Linked DNA regions of Homo sapiens: all the other regions are linked to region 3. Evidence: promoter capture Hi-C in human tissues and cell types (Jung and others, 2019). All regions are on one chromosome and are shown on one strand. The core of a region is centred on a gene start or on the middle of the fragment in contact, and the rest is flanking DNA. Distances in the headings are between cores, read along the strand shown. Region 1 overlaps PDSS2 (decaprenyl diphosphate synthase subunit 2). Region 2 overlaps PDSS2 (decaprenyl diphosphate synthase subunit 2). Region 3 holds the start of BEND3 (BEN domain containing 3).

Evidence for each region. Contacts are between HindIII fragments. The study calls those that stand out against the background at their distance.
Region 1: a contact is called between a fragment that was not itself captured here and the fragment with the promoter of BEND3 in region 3, in 1 of the 25 tissues and cell types used here (heart right ventricle).
Region 2: a fragment that was not itself captured here is called in contact with the fragment with the promoter of BEND3 in region 3 in 2 of the 25 tissues and cell types used here (bladder and heart left ventricle).

The regions. Positions count from the first base shown.
Region 1 is chr6:107,259,056-107,262,718 of GRCh38, forward strand. The region is part of intron 3 of PDSS2 (decaprenyl diphosphate synthase subunit 2); the gene reads right to left. Among named protein-coding and RNA genes, the nearest start is that of BEND3, 150 kb to the left of the region's middle. The HindIII fragment of the contact is 6,860 bases long and covers 1-3,663 here.
Region 2 is chr6:107,277,196-107,281,032 of GRCh38, forward strand. All of the region lies in intron 2 of PDSS2 (decaprenyl diphosphate synthase subunit 2), which reads right to left. The region is part of intron 1 of LOC124901366 (a long non-coding RNA gene); the gene reads left to right. Among named protein-coding and RNA genes, the nearest start is that of BEND3, 160 kb to the left of the region's middle. The HindIII fragment of the contact is 4,222 bases long and covers 1-3,369 here.
Region 3 is chr6:107,113,701-107,117,377 of GRCh38, forward strand. BEND3 (BEN domain containing 3) reads right to left here and starts at 1,815. Exons shown (of 4, transcript NM_001367314.1): 1 at 1,390-1,815. RefSeq lists silencers at 529-1,438, 1,569-1,618, 1,659-1,708 and enhancers at 2,301-3,064, 3,065-3,677. The HindIII fragment of the contact is 9,723 bases long and covers 1-3,677 here.

The sequences.
Region 1 (3,663 bases), core at 20-2,519, 140 kb after region 3:
AATTACTTATCCTTTCCCTGTACCTCAGGAGACATTAAATGGGTTAATATAGATAAAGCACTTAAAACAGTGCCTACCGTATAGTAAGCCCTCAAAAATATAAATTGTTATTTCTAAAATATTTGATGGTAATTTTAATGATTAAATTTTCTACAACTATAAAGTTTCTAATTTCAGTGATAAAAATGGGGAATTAAGATATCAGATAGACTGAAATAATAGATGGATGAATGAATGATCTGAATTTGGAATTCTGAGAGGTAAAATGAAGAGTTCAATGTTAAATGGCTTATTGGGGGATAAAAAGAAACAAAAGAAAAAATGAGGCCAGGCGTGGTGGCTCACATCAGAAATCCCAGCATTTTGGGAGGCCAAGGTGGGCGGATCACCTGAGGTCAGGAGTTCAAGACCAGCCTGGCCAACATGGTGAAACCCCACTTCTACTAAAAATACAAAAAAAAAGGAAAAAATTAGCCGGGCGTGGTGGCACATGCTTGTAATCCCCGCTACTTGGGAGGCTGAGGCAGAAGAATCTCTTGAACCCAGGAGGCGGAGGTTGCAGTGAGCTGAGATCGCACCACTGCATTCCAGCCTGGGCGACAGAACAAGACTCTGTCTCAAAAAAAAAAAATAGAAAAAAGAAAAAATGAAAGAGAAAAAAAGCCAAGGCTAGGAATTCGGTCCACAGACTTCTACTTTATGGTTCTTTCCACTTCTCTTTGTAGCTTTACATGTCATCTCTAGGAATGTAAAATACATAAGTGCTATGTAGCTCAACACATTATGAAAATATAAGTGATCCCCAAGAGTGTAGCTAAAACTGTTATTAGTAAACAGTTACTCTGATATTCTAAACAGGGAAACTATCCTTTAAAAACCAAAGACTTGATTTGCAATATAGTTTTGGTGTTTCCAGATTTCTGCCTGACTTTACACCCTGAAAATGGTCCCAGAACAATGACAATTAAGCCATAGGAATGACAACAAACAATTTAATGAAATTTCCAGAATGCTTAAAAAGAAACTTGCTTGGCACAGCCATACTTTCCAACAAACCCACTTTAAAGTTTTCACAGTTTACAATATCAGAAATGACCTCAGGGTCAGGCATTTGTCAGTTAATGACCTGTTGGGCTAATGGCCTTCAGCTTTGCCTTAGGCACATAAGTCCTCCAGTAGGTCATTAGCTGCCAGAAAAGGGCTCTTCCCAATCACTATGGCTAAATAAATAAAATTTGCTCCTGGGCTAAGACCCTATAAACCAACTTTGGCTTAGACTAAGTAAATTTTTTGTTGCGTATTTACAACTTTAAGAATTTAAGAAAATGATGGAAATGCTAAAACCAAAATTACATTAACATGACTGAGCTATATGTGGCTATCAATGAGGAAAGTAGTCACATAGACTCTTGGATGAGCTTAAATTTTCTTTTGCTTATGGTATTCAAATTCAGTTGAACCTCACATCATGGTTGGCCATGAGAAATAGAAATATATTGACTATGGCAATATTATATATAATACATTTAGCAACCTTGATCTTTGTAAATCCCATTTCCTACCTTCCAGAAGTAAAATTAATTAAATCAGTCTTCCCCCTTCATTTTTTTTTTTTTTTTTTTTTTTGAGACGGAGTCTGGCTCTGACGCCCAGGCTGGAGTGCAGTGGCGCAATCTCGGCTCACTGCAAGCTCCACCTCCCGTGTTCAAGCCATTCTCCTGCCTCAGCCTCCCGAGTAGCTGGGACTACAGGCGCCCGCCACTATGCCCGGCTAATTTTTGTATTTTTAGTAGAGATGGGGTTTCACCGTGTTAGCCAGGATGGTCTCGATCTCCTGACCTTGTGATCTGCCCACCTCAGACACCCAAAGTGCTGGGATTACAGGCTTGAGCCATCGCGCCTGGCCCCCCCTCCATTTTCATGGACATTTGCTAGATCTCCAAAGCCAGAGCGAGAAAAAAAATCTATTTTCAAGTTTGAGTGATTCAGTACTCTTCTTTTCCCTTTCTAATGGTCTCACCTGAGGAACTTTCTGAGTTAGGAGTTTACTAAGTACTGGGTGGATAGACAGCTGATTCCTGCCTTCGCATCTGCAGCTGCCTATCTCTTCTCCATCTATCCTTTCTTCACTCCAGCAGGCTTGTATACTGTGTCTCTTTCTGTCCCTTCCCAAATCTCATGTTGAATTGTAAACCCCAATGCAGGAGGTGGGGCTGGTGGGATGTGTTTGGATCATGGGGGCAGATCCCTTATGGCTTGGTGCTGTCTTCACAATAGTGAGTGAGGTCTTGGGAGATCTGGTAGTTTAAAAGTGTGTGGCACCTCCTTCCCGTTGCTCCTGCTTTCACCATGTGACGTCCCTGCTCCCACTTTGCCTTCTGCCATGATTGTAAGCTTCCTAAGGCCTTCCTAGAAGCTGAGCAGGTGCAAGCACCATGCTTCCTGTAAAGCCTGAAGAACCATAAGCCAATTAAACCTCTTTTCTTTACAAAATTACCCAGTCTCAGGTATTTCTTTTCTTTCTTTTTTTTTTTTTTTTTTGAGATGGAGTTTCACTCTTTCCCCTAGGCTGGAATGCAGTGGCGCAATCTCAGTTCACTGCAACCTCCGCTTTTGGGTTCAAGCAATTCTCCTGCCTCCGCCTCCCGAGTAGCTGGGATTATAGGTGCCCGCCACCATGCCCGGCTAATTTTTTGTATTTTTAGTAGAGATGGGGTTTTGGCATGTTGGCCAGGCTGGTCTCGAACTCCTGACCTCAGGTGATCAACCTGCCTGGGCCTCCCAATGTGCTAGAATTACAAGTGTGAGCCACCGTGCCTGGCCCGTCTCAGGTATTTCTTTTCTTTCTTTTCTTTTTTTTTTTTTTTTTTTGAGATGGAGTCTGGCTCTGTTGCCCAGGCTGGAGTGCAGTGGTGCGATCTTGGCTCACTCCAAGCTCCGCCTCCCTGGTTCACGCCATTCTCCCGCCTCAGCCTCCTGAGTAGCTGGGACTACAGGCGCCCGCCACCACGCCCGGCTAATTTTTTTGCATTTTTGTAGAGACGGGGTTTCACTGTGTTAGCCAGGATGGCCTCGATCTCCTGACCTCGTGATCTGCCCGCGCGGCCTCCCAAAGTGCTGGGATTACAGGTGTGAGCCACTGTGCCTGGCCTGCCTCAGGTATTTCTTTATCGCAATGCAAGAACAGCCTAACACACTGTTCACAACTCGGTTAATTTCACCTCACGTAATCTCTAAAGTGTATATACATCCTCTTCAATCTTCATCCTCCAGTTTTCTATTCTTTCTCCTTTTACTTATTATTTCAGAAAAATTGCCACTCACCTTCTTGACTTCTACTTTCTCCTTTCAAGAAGACATAAACCAAGGATCTTCAAGTTGAGAAACATCAGAGGAAAGCAAGATTTCTCTCGTGCTAAGAAAAAGGAAAATTGGGCCAGGCAAGGTGGCTCACACCTGTAATCCCAGCATTTTGGGAGGCTTGAGGCGGGCAGATCACGAGGTCAGGAGATCAAGACCATCCTGGCTAACACGGTGAAACCCCACCTCTATTAAAAATACAAAAAATTAGCTGGGCATGGTGGCACGTGCCTGTAGTCCCAGCTATTTGAGAGGCTGAGGTAGGAGAATCACTTGAACCTGGGAGGCAGAGGTTGCAGTGAG
Region 2 (3,837 bases), core at 9-2,508, 160 kb after region 3:
CTTGAAGAAGCTAAATTTGAGCGGGGCCTGGAAAGGCAAGTAAGATTTCCATAGCTGGAGAAAAAGGACAAAACAAGAGTAGGGCTTGGGAACCCCAGAATAAGAAAGACTACACATCATGACACAGAGAAGGCAAGAGTAGAAAACGTGACCAAAGGTTGAAAAGATCAGTTTGGCTACAGTAAAGGGACTGTGTGGATAAGTGAGAGATAAGAATTTTGGAGCTTGGTTATAGCAGGTGAAATGGTCTATATTTTACACATGCAATATTTTGAGATGAAAGGATGATATATATTTTTTAATAATTTAGGAAGAAGATTCCAAAGGTGATACATAGAAAAATCTTAAAAAGTATGTAGGGAAAGTAGGGATATGGGGTGGGGGAGCTATTACAAAGGTCCAAGGAAGATGCAACAAAAGGGCTTGACCTAGGACACCGCCTTAGACATGGAGAGAAATAAATATAGAATAATCAGGCCAGGCGCGGTGGCTCAGGCCTGTAATCCCTGCACTATGGGAGGCCAAGGCGGGTGGATCACCTGAGGTAAGGAGTTCGAAACCAACCTGGCCAACATGGTGAAACCCCGTCTCTACTAAAAATACAAAAATTAGCCAGGCGTGTTGGCGGGTGCCTGACTAATTTTTGGGAGCTACTTGGGAGGCAGAGGCAAGGAGAATCACTTGAACCCGGAAGGCAGAGGTTGCAGTTAGCTGAGATTGCACCACTGCACTCTAGCCTGGATGACAGAGCAAGACTCTGTCTCAAAAATAAATGAATAAATAAAATAAATAAATAAATAAATAAATATAAAATCATCAAATAATATATGAGACTCCTCTTAAAAAAAACAGAATGGTTTAACATCTATAATAATCACATAAAGATACAATTAAAAGAACAAATTGGCATTATCAAATGCCAAGGAAAATCTCATGTCTAATTGATTTCCTTTGTTAAAAAAATTAAGAGAATATGTAAAGATGACCCAGTAGACATATTGTACTTGATTACAAATTTGGGGAGTAGAGAAAGGAAATGAACCAGTGAGTCAAATAGTATCTAAGAGTAAATTCATGGTTTAGATTAAAATCTCATTATATCCCAAAGAAAATCACTAAGAATGGAGACTTATAAGACAGTTGAAAAGTTAACAGAAGACATTTTTTTAAAGTAGAACATTTAAAATTACCGTTTAAAAAGTGACTAAAAGAAAGGAATAAAATTGTATTTTATTACTATCCTGCGAATGATTTCTAGTTTACAAAACCATTCACTGAAAAAAGTCCGCATTATCACATTTCACAAAAATCACATAATGAGATTATGGGCAAGTATAAAAGTAAAAAGCGTTAAGCATTTGGACAAGTTTTTCATGCAGTTCAGTTTATGAAAGAAAGTAATAACCAGGTAAGCAAAAAGTTGTGGTGTTTTGAATTACTCAAAGGATGAAAATGAGTGATTTTGACATCTATAGTCATAAAACAGCATTCATTAAATAAATAGAAACTTTTAAATGCCACATGACCAGAAACAACAAAAACAATGGTATGCAATAATAAAAGTGAAAGCCCATCATTTTTACAGGGTCTGCCATTTAAAAAAACCTTTCATTTATATTATCTACTTGTGATTCTAATTACAGAGGTCTGCAGAGGTTAAATACTTGATCAAGAACACTGAGTTTATACAAGGCAAAGCTGGAACTCAGAGCCACCTTGTCATAGTAACAAATGACAATTTAAAACATCTAGCTGGGCTCACGCCTGTAATCCCAGCACTTTGGGAGGCTGAGGCAGGTGGACCACTTGAGGTCGGGAGTTCAAGAGCAGCCTGGCCAACATGGTGAAACCCCATCTCTACTAAAAATACAAAAATTGGCTGGACATGGTGGCGCATGTCTGTAATCCCAGCTATTTGGAGACTGAGGCAGGAGAATCGCTTCAACCCGGGAGGCGGAGGTTGCAGTGAGCCGAGATCACACCACTGCACTCCAGCCTGGGCAACAGAGTGAAACTCTGTCTCAAAATAAAAATAAAAATAAAAATAAATGTTTATTTACCTAAGGAATAGTAGATCGTTGGGGAGGGGGAATAAGCCAAAGTTATCAATGTTACCATCACTGATATATGCCACAAATTTGTCCAATTTTTATCCCTAGTTTTGAAGCAACAGGGAAGGGAATGTTGCTAGGAAAAAAGTATATTAAGAACAGGCTTAATTCTTTTTGTTTACAGTAACTGGGGAAGGTCAAGTTGTTTGAATTCACCAGGATGAAATCAATAGTTTTAGCCTAATCAGGAATCTGGATAACAGTTCTACTTCTGCTTATTACATAAGACAATTCATGGGCAAATCCCTTAAATCAGACCCGTGGTCTTCTTGTCCCTGAAAGGAGGGGGACTGGAGCAACACATCCCTTCCAGTCCCCAAATTATAAGATTCAGGGATTTTTTTAAAAAAAGAGTTATCTAAACTGGCAGTTAATAGTTAAAAAGATTTAAAAAAATGATTACTATTATTGGTACCTATTTTTCTATAGGAAATAGGAGTGAAATGACTGGTCGTCTTTAAATCTATCCTGTAATTTCACTCTCTAGTACTGTGCTCTCAGATTCTAAGATTTTATCACCAGATAAGTAACTCTGGATCATATTTTGTAAGAGTACAATTTAGTATATGTCAGAGAAGCATTGACAGTATGAAAAAATTTGAGAAAAATTTCTTCTGGTGATCTTATTCCTATTTTAGCTACCCAAAGCAATCTATTAAACTTTCAATGCACTGGATTTTTAAAAAATTATCTTAAATAAAAGTCTTCATGCCGATTTATGTACATATATTTTAGTACTCTTGAATATTTCTCATGCTAACTCTTTTTTTTGAGATGGAGTCTTGCTCTGTCACCCAGGCTGGAGTGCAGTAACGTGATCTCGGCTCACTGCAACCTCTGCCTCCCAGGTTCAAGCAATTCTCATGCGTCAGCCTCCCGAGTAGCTAGGATTACAGGCATGCGCCATGATGTCCAGCTAAGTTTTTTGTATTTTTAGTAGAGACAGGGTTTCACCATGTTGGCCAGGCTGGTCTTAAACTCCTGACCTCAACTGATCCACCCACCTCGGCCTCCCAAAGTGCTGGGATTACAGGCCTAAGCCACTATGCTGGGCCCTCATGCTAACTCTTGATTAGAAAACAGTCACAAATAAATACAACTTATGTTAAGTAATCAGAGTAAGAAAGTAATTACCATATTGAAAGATTAATAAATGTTTTTACAAGATTTTTCACCAAATCACTTTCTTTCCATTATATGTTAAAAAATTTCATCTGCTTTTGATCTGTCCATTTTCCTCCAAAGCTTCTCAAATTTTTTTAGCATCCTAAGCTTCAGAAATCAGGGTGGCAGACATTGCTATTAATATTTGCCTATCCATTCATTCCTGTGTTTGCGCCACTGCACTCCAGCCTGGGCAACAGAGACCCTGTCTCAACAAACAAACAAACAAACAAACAACCCAAATTGTTACTTATAATAACTTGAAATCTCTTCAAATGTTTTGCATTTAAGTTGATGTTAAAATAGCAGAGTTAATTGTGTTTTGCCACGCAGACAAGGGAGATAAAAGACAACGGAGCCTGCTTTCTCTCTATCTTCTTTCCTTCCCTTTATTCTTTTTGAGAGGTTAAAAATATACAGAAAAGTACATACTCTTGACTACATTTGGAGTGGCAATGGTCCTCACTTAAAAACCTTACCTCCTCATGATCCCCTTCAGCTAGATGTGATCATGTGACACAGTCTGGCCAATGAAATGTAAGCACTAGTCTACCAGGTGGGG
Region 3 (3,677 bases), core at 565-3,064:
GAGGAAAGCTTGACAGGCTCTTGTATGGTAGTATAAAGCCAATATCTAGGGATGAATGGTTTAAAAAAAAAAGAGAGAAAAACGGACTGCAAGGGTGGAAGTGGGGAGCGGGTAACAAGAGAAAGTCCTCCATCCCAGCCGTTTATATACCTGGCTACCTGAAGGACTCAGTTCCTTACCTCAGTTTCCTGCAACCGTAGCTTTCTGGCACTATGCCACGCTGCCCTGTGGCATGTTTACTATTTGTATTCAACCATTCAAAAGTTACTTTAAGGAGATGAACTGCACATTTCCAACTCTAGTGAGTAACCTTGTTCCTCCCGGCACTCTTGTCGAGTTAGCGTTTACGTGCAGAATTCTTCCAGAAAGACCACCTGAGCAATCAATAAAACTTTTATCTCTGTAAAAACACCTTGTTTAAAATAGCTACATAGGGAGACGTAGGTAAACAAGCACACAAGGGCCTCCAAATCGGTGGTGCACAGCTCACGGATGAGGCAAGGGCAAAGCATGCGTGGGAAATCACGTTTATCATAGAGAAGGAAAGGAGCGCTCACGAGGAGCGGCGAGCGCCCCAGGCTTCAGCTTTGCGGCCGGCCGGCCAGGCCTCGCGCCAGCCCGGGTGCACACCCAAGGCGCCGGGCCCGCCTCCAGCTCCTGGGCAGCGGGAACCGCGAACCGCCGTGGAACGGCCGGGAAGGGAGCGCTGCGCCCCCTGGCGGCGGGGCCCATCCCTCTCCGCTCCCGGCCGCCGCCGCCGCGGGCCGGCCTCGCTCCATTTGCAGCCTCCGGAGGCTTCGTTCCTCCGAGCGGCTGCTCCCCCGGCCTCCCGCTCGCCGCCCGGCATCTCCCTCCAGTCCCCGCCCCCTGCTCCCGCTCCGACACCCCCTTCCACACGCCGAGCAGTGCCCCGCCAAAGCCCCGCCGAGCGCGAGCGCCAAGCCGCCGCGAGTACGGCAGAGCCTTCCGGCCGCCCCGGCCGCTCCATCGCGGCGCCCGGCGGGGGTGCGGGGCCGGCGCGCGGCGCGAGTGGGGCGGGCGGCGGCGGCGGCGCGGACGGTTCCACCGCGCGAACCCCCCGCCCCCGCGCGGCGCGCGTGCTCCCCAGAACGCCATGGAGCCGCCGCGTTCCGAGCGGGCACAAAGGGGCGCGCAGCACAATGGGCGCGGCGAGCCCGTGGGCGCCCGGCGCCCGCTCCGGTCGCTCGGCCCGCGCGGGGGTGGGCGCTACTACCGGCGGGCGCGCTCGGAGCAGCCCCCCTCCGCGTCCCCTCCCCTGCTCCCGCCCCCACCCCGGCATGGATGTTGCAGCCACTCTACCGGCCGCTCGCCCCGGAGCCGCCAACGCTGCCGCCGCCGCGCGGCCGGCTTGATCCGCCCCGCACTTACCTGGGACGCGAGTTCTGTACTTTGCCGGGCGGGCCCGCGCCGAGTTTGGGCGCCACGTGGGGGGGAGGGCGCGGGGCCGGGGAGTGGGGGCCGCGCGCGGAGGGCCTGGCCAGGGCGGCCCGGGGAGGCGCTGGGGGCGGCGGGCGGGCGAGCGCCGTGTATTTTCCCCTCTCTTTGTGTGTGTCCGTGCGCTGCGCTCTCGCGTGACGTGACGGGACTCCGTGTGTCATTTCCGCACAAGGACACAGGAGCCCCCGCTGCAGTGGAACCACAACCCCTCCGCCCCCACCCCCGGCCCGCCCCTCCCCCTCAGCGGGGCACACGCGGGACCGGCGGCGGCGGCGCTCGGGCGTGAACGGCCGCGGCGGGGAGCTCGGGCGCGCACTCCCGGGACCCAGGCGGCCCGGCGCGCTCGGCCAGCGCAGTGGCTCCACGTGGGCCCGCGCTGGCTGCCCGGGGCGGGGGCGGCGGCCGCGCACCCACGGCGCGCCGGGCAGGCGCCGCGAACAATGTCCCCTGTACCCCATGTGTCCTCCCACCGCGAGTTCGTCCTCGGAAACGTGGTTTCTCAGACCCGAGAGTTTGGCCCCAAACGGCTTTTTCTACTTTTTTGCCCCTTGCGGGACGGCGACTGTGCGGAGCTTGTCCCGCCTCGCGCCCACGCCTCTCCCGCATTTTTGGCCTTTGGGCCGCAGCCCAGGCCCCCGGGGCCGGTCTTCCCGCGCCGCCACCGGCACAAAGACCTTGGGGCGCGAGGGCCCGGGTGGCTCCTGCGGCCCCGCGGGGCGGCATGGAGTCCGGCGGGACCCGGGAGAGCGACCCTGGCGCTGGGAAAAGCTGGCTCTGGCCACTCCCCCTGCACGGTGGCCGCCCTCTGTTGTGAGCCTCAGAGCTAAAATCTGCTCTTGCAACCCGAAGTTCTGGGGTGTGAGGCTGCGGAGCGAGAGCTTCGGAAGCGCCCGCGCTCACAGACACACACCCCACAAACACAAACCCACGGGCTGTCTGCGCCGAGCGCCTAAAATAGAAAAACACGAGTCACCAACTCAATAAAGGCTGATTCTGTCTACTCCTAACTCTTGGACTGTAGATTCCCAGTTGATAAATACGAAATCTACCCCTCGGGTATTTTCTCAAGTCTCAGTGGCTGGGTAGGGGGAGGGGGAGGTGCTGGGTGAGAGTCAGGGAAGCCCAATTCAACAGTTTAGCCACGTTTGTATTTTAGGCAAACAATGAGAATGTAAATTTAAGAAAAATCCTTTAATTTGCCGATCAAAGAAAGTATAAAAAGAAAAATGCAAATGATCCCATCTGCTGCTCACAGCTGACTGGCTGCAAGGGAGGACCATGTGGCACGGCCCTGCGCGGTCAGTGAATAGGTAGAATAGATTTTTAAAAGAAGGCATATGTTGGCTCCTTGCTGCCCAGTCGCGGCGAGGGTTTGAATTAACGTATAGTTTGGGTTTACCGTACCCTCCTTCAGACCACTCCAATTGGGAATTTAGTAATTATGCAAGTTCCCCCCCTTCGGGCTTGAAATCAAAAGGCACAGGGTTAAGTTTGAGGAACTACGTGGAACATTCTCGAGCTGTATTTGGATTACTGGTTTAGTGAAGTCAGTACTAATTGCTATGCAAAATTAAGCAAGCAGCCTGAAGAACCAAGCCCTGCATCCAGGGGGTGCTTTTATAGAAGAATCTATACGTGCTCAGTGTCATTGAAAACAGGATGATGAAAAGAATGGGGCCGAGATAGCAGCCCTTCAAATTCAAAAGACTTAGGTCGCCCTATCTACATTTAAAATAGGGCGGAGGGAGGAAGGGAGGAGGACTGCTTGGGGGAGAATGGTTAATTTATACATTCGCAGAAGACTGAGGGGAGGCACTTCGATTTCTGCAGAGAACTTGACTTTTACACTTGCACATTAAATAACACGTACGACACAGTACATCGCTTGACTTAGTTAACAGATACACCAGTTTTATTCTCACCTTCAATTTAATGTGACAGTTATAATTAGAATTTTTAAAGTAGAAGTTGCATTTCATTAGTTCAGTTTTCTAGGATTTCCCAGTAGAAGAGTTAGGAATAGTTAAGTAGCACTTAAGCACATTTTGCATTTAAATCACTTTGCTGTGGTGCTTTAAGAATGTAAAACGACCTTGTTAAATTTTTGGAAAGAGGACTAGATGAAACGTGTGTAGTGAGGGGATATATATTTAACCAATCTTTCACAGTGACAACTCAGGTTTTTAAGGAGAAATTAAATAATAAGACAATAGAGATAG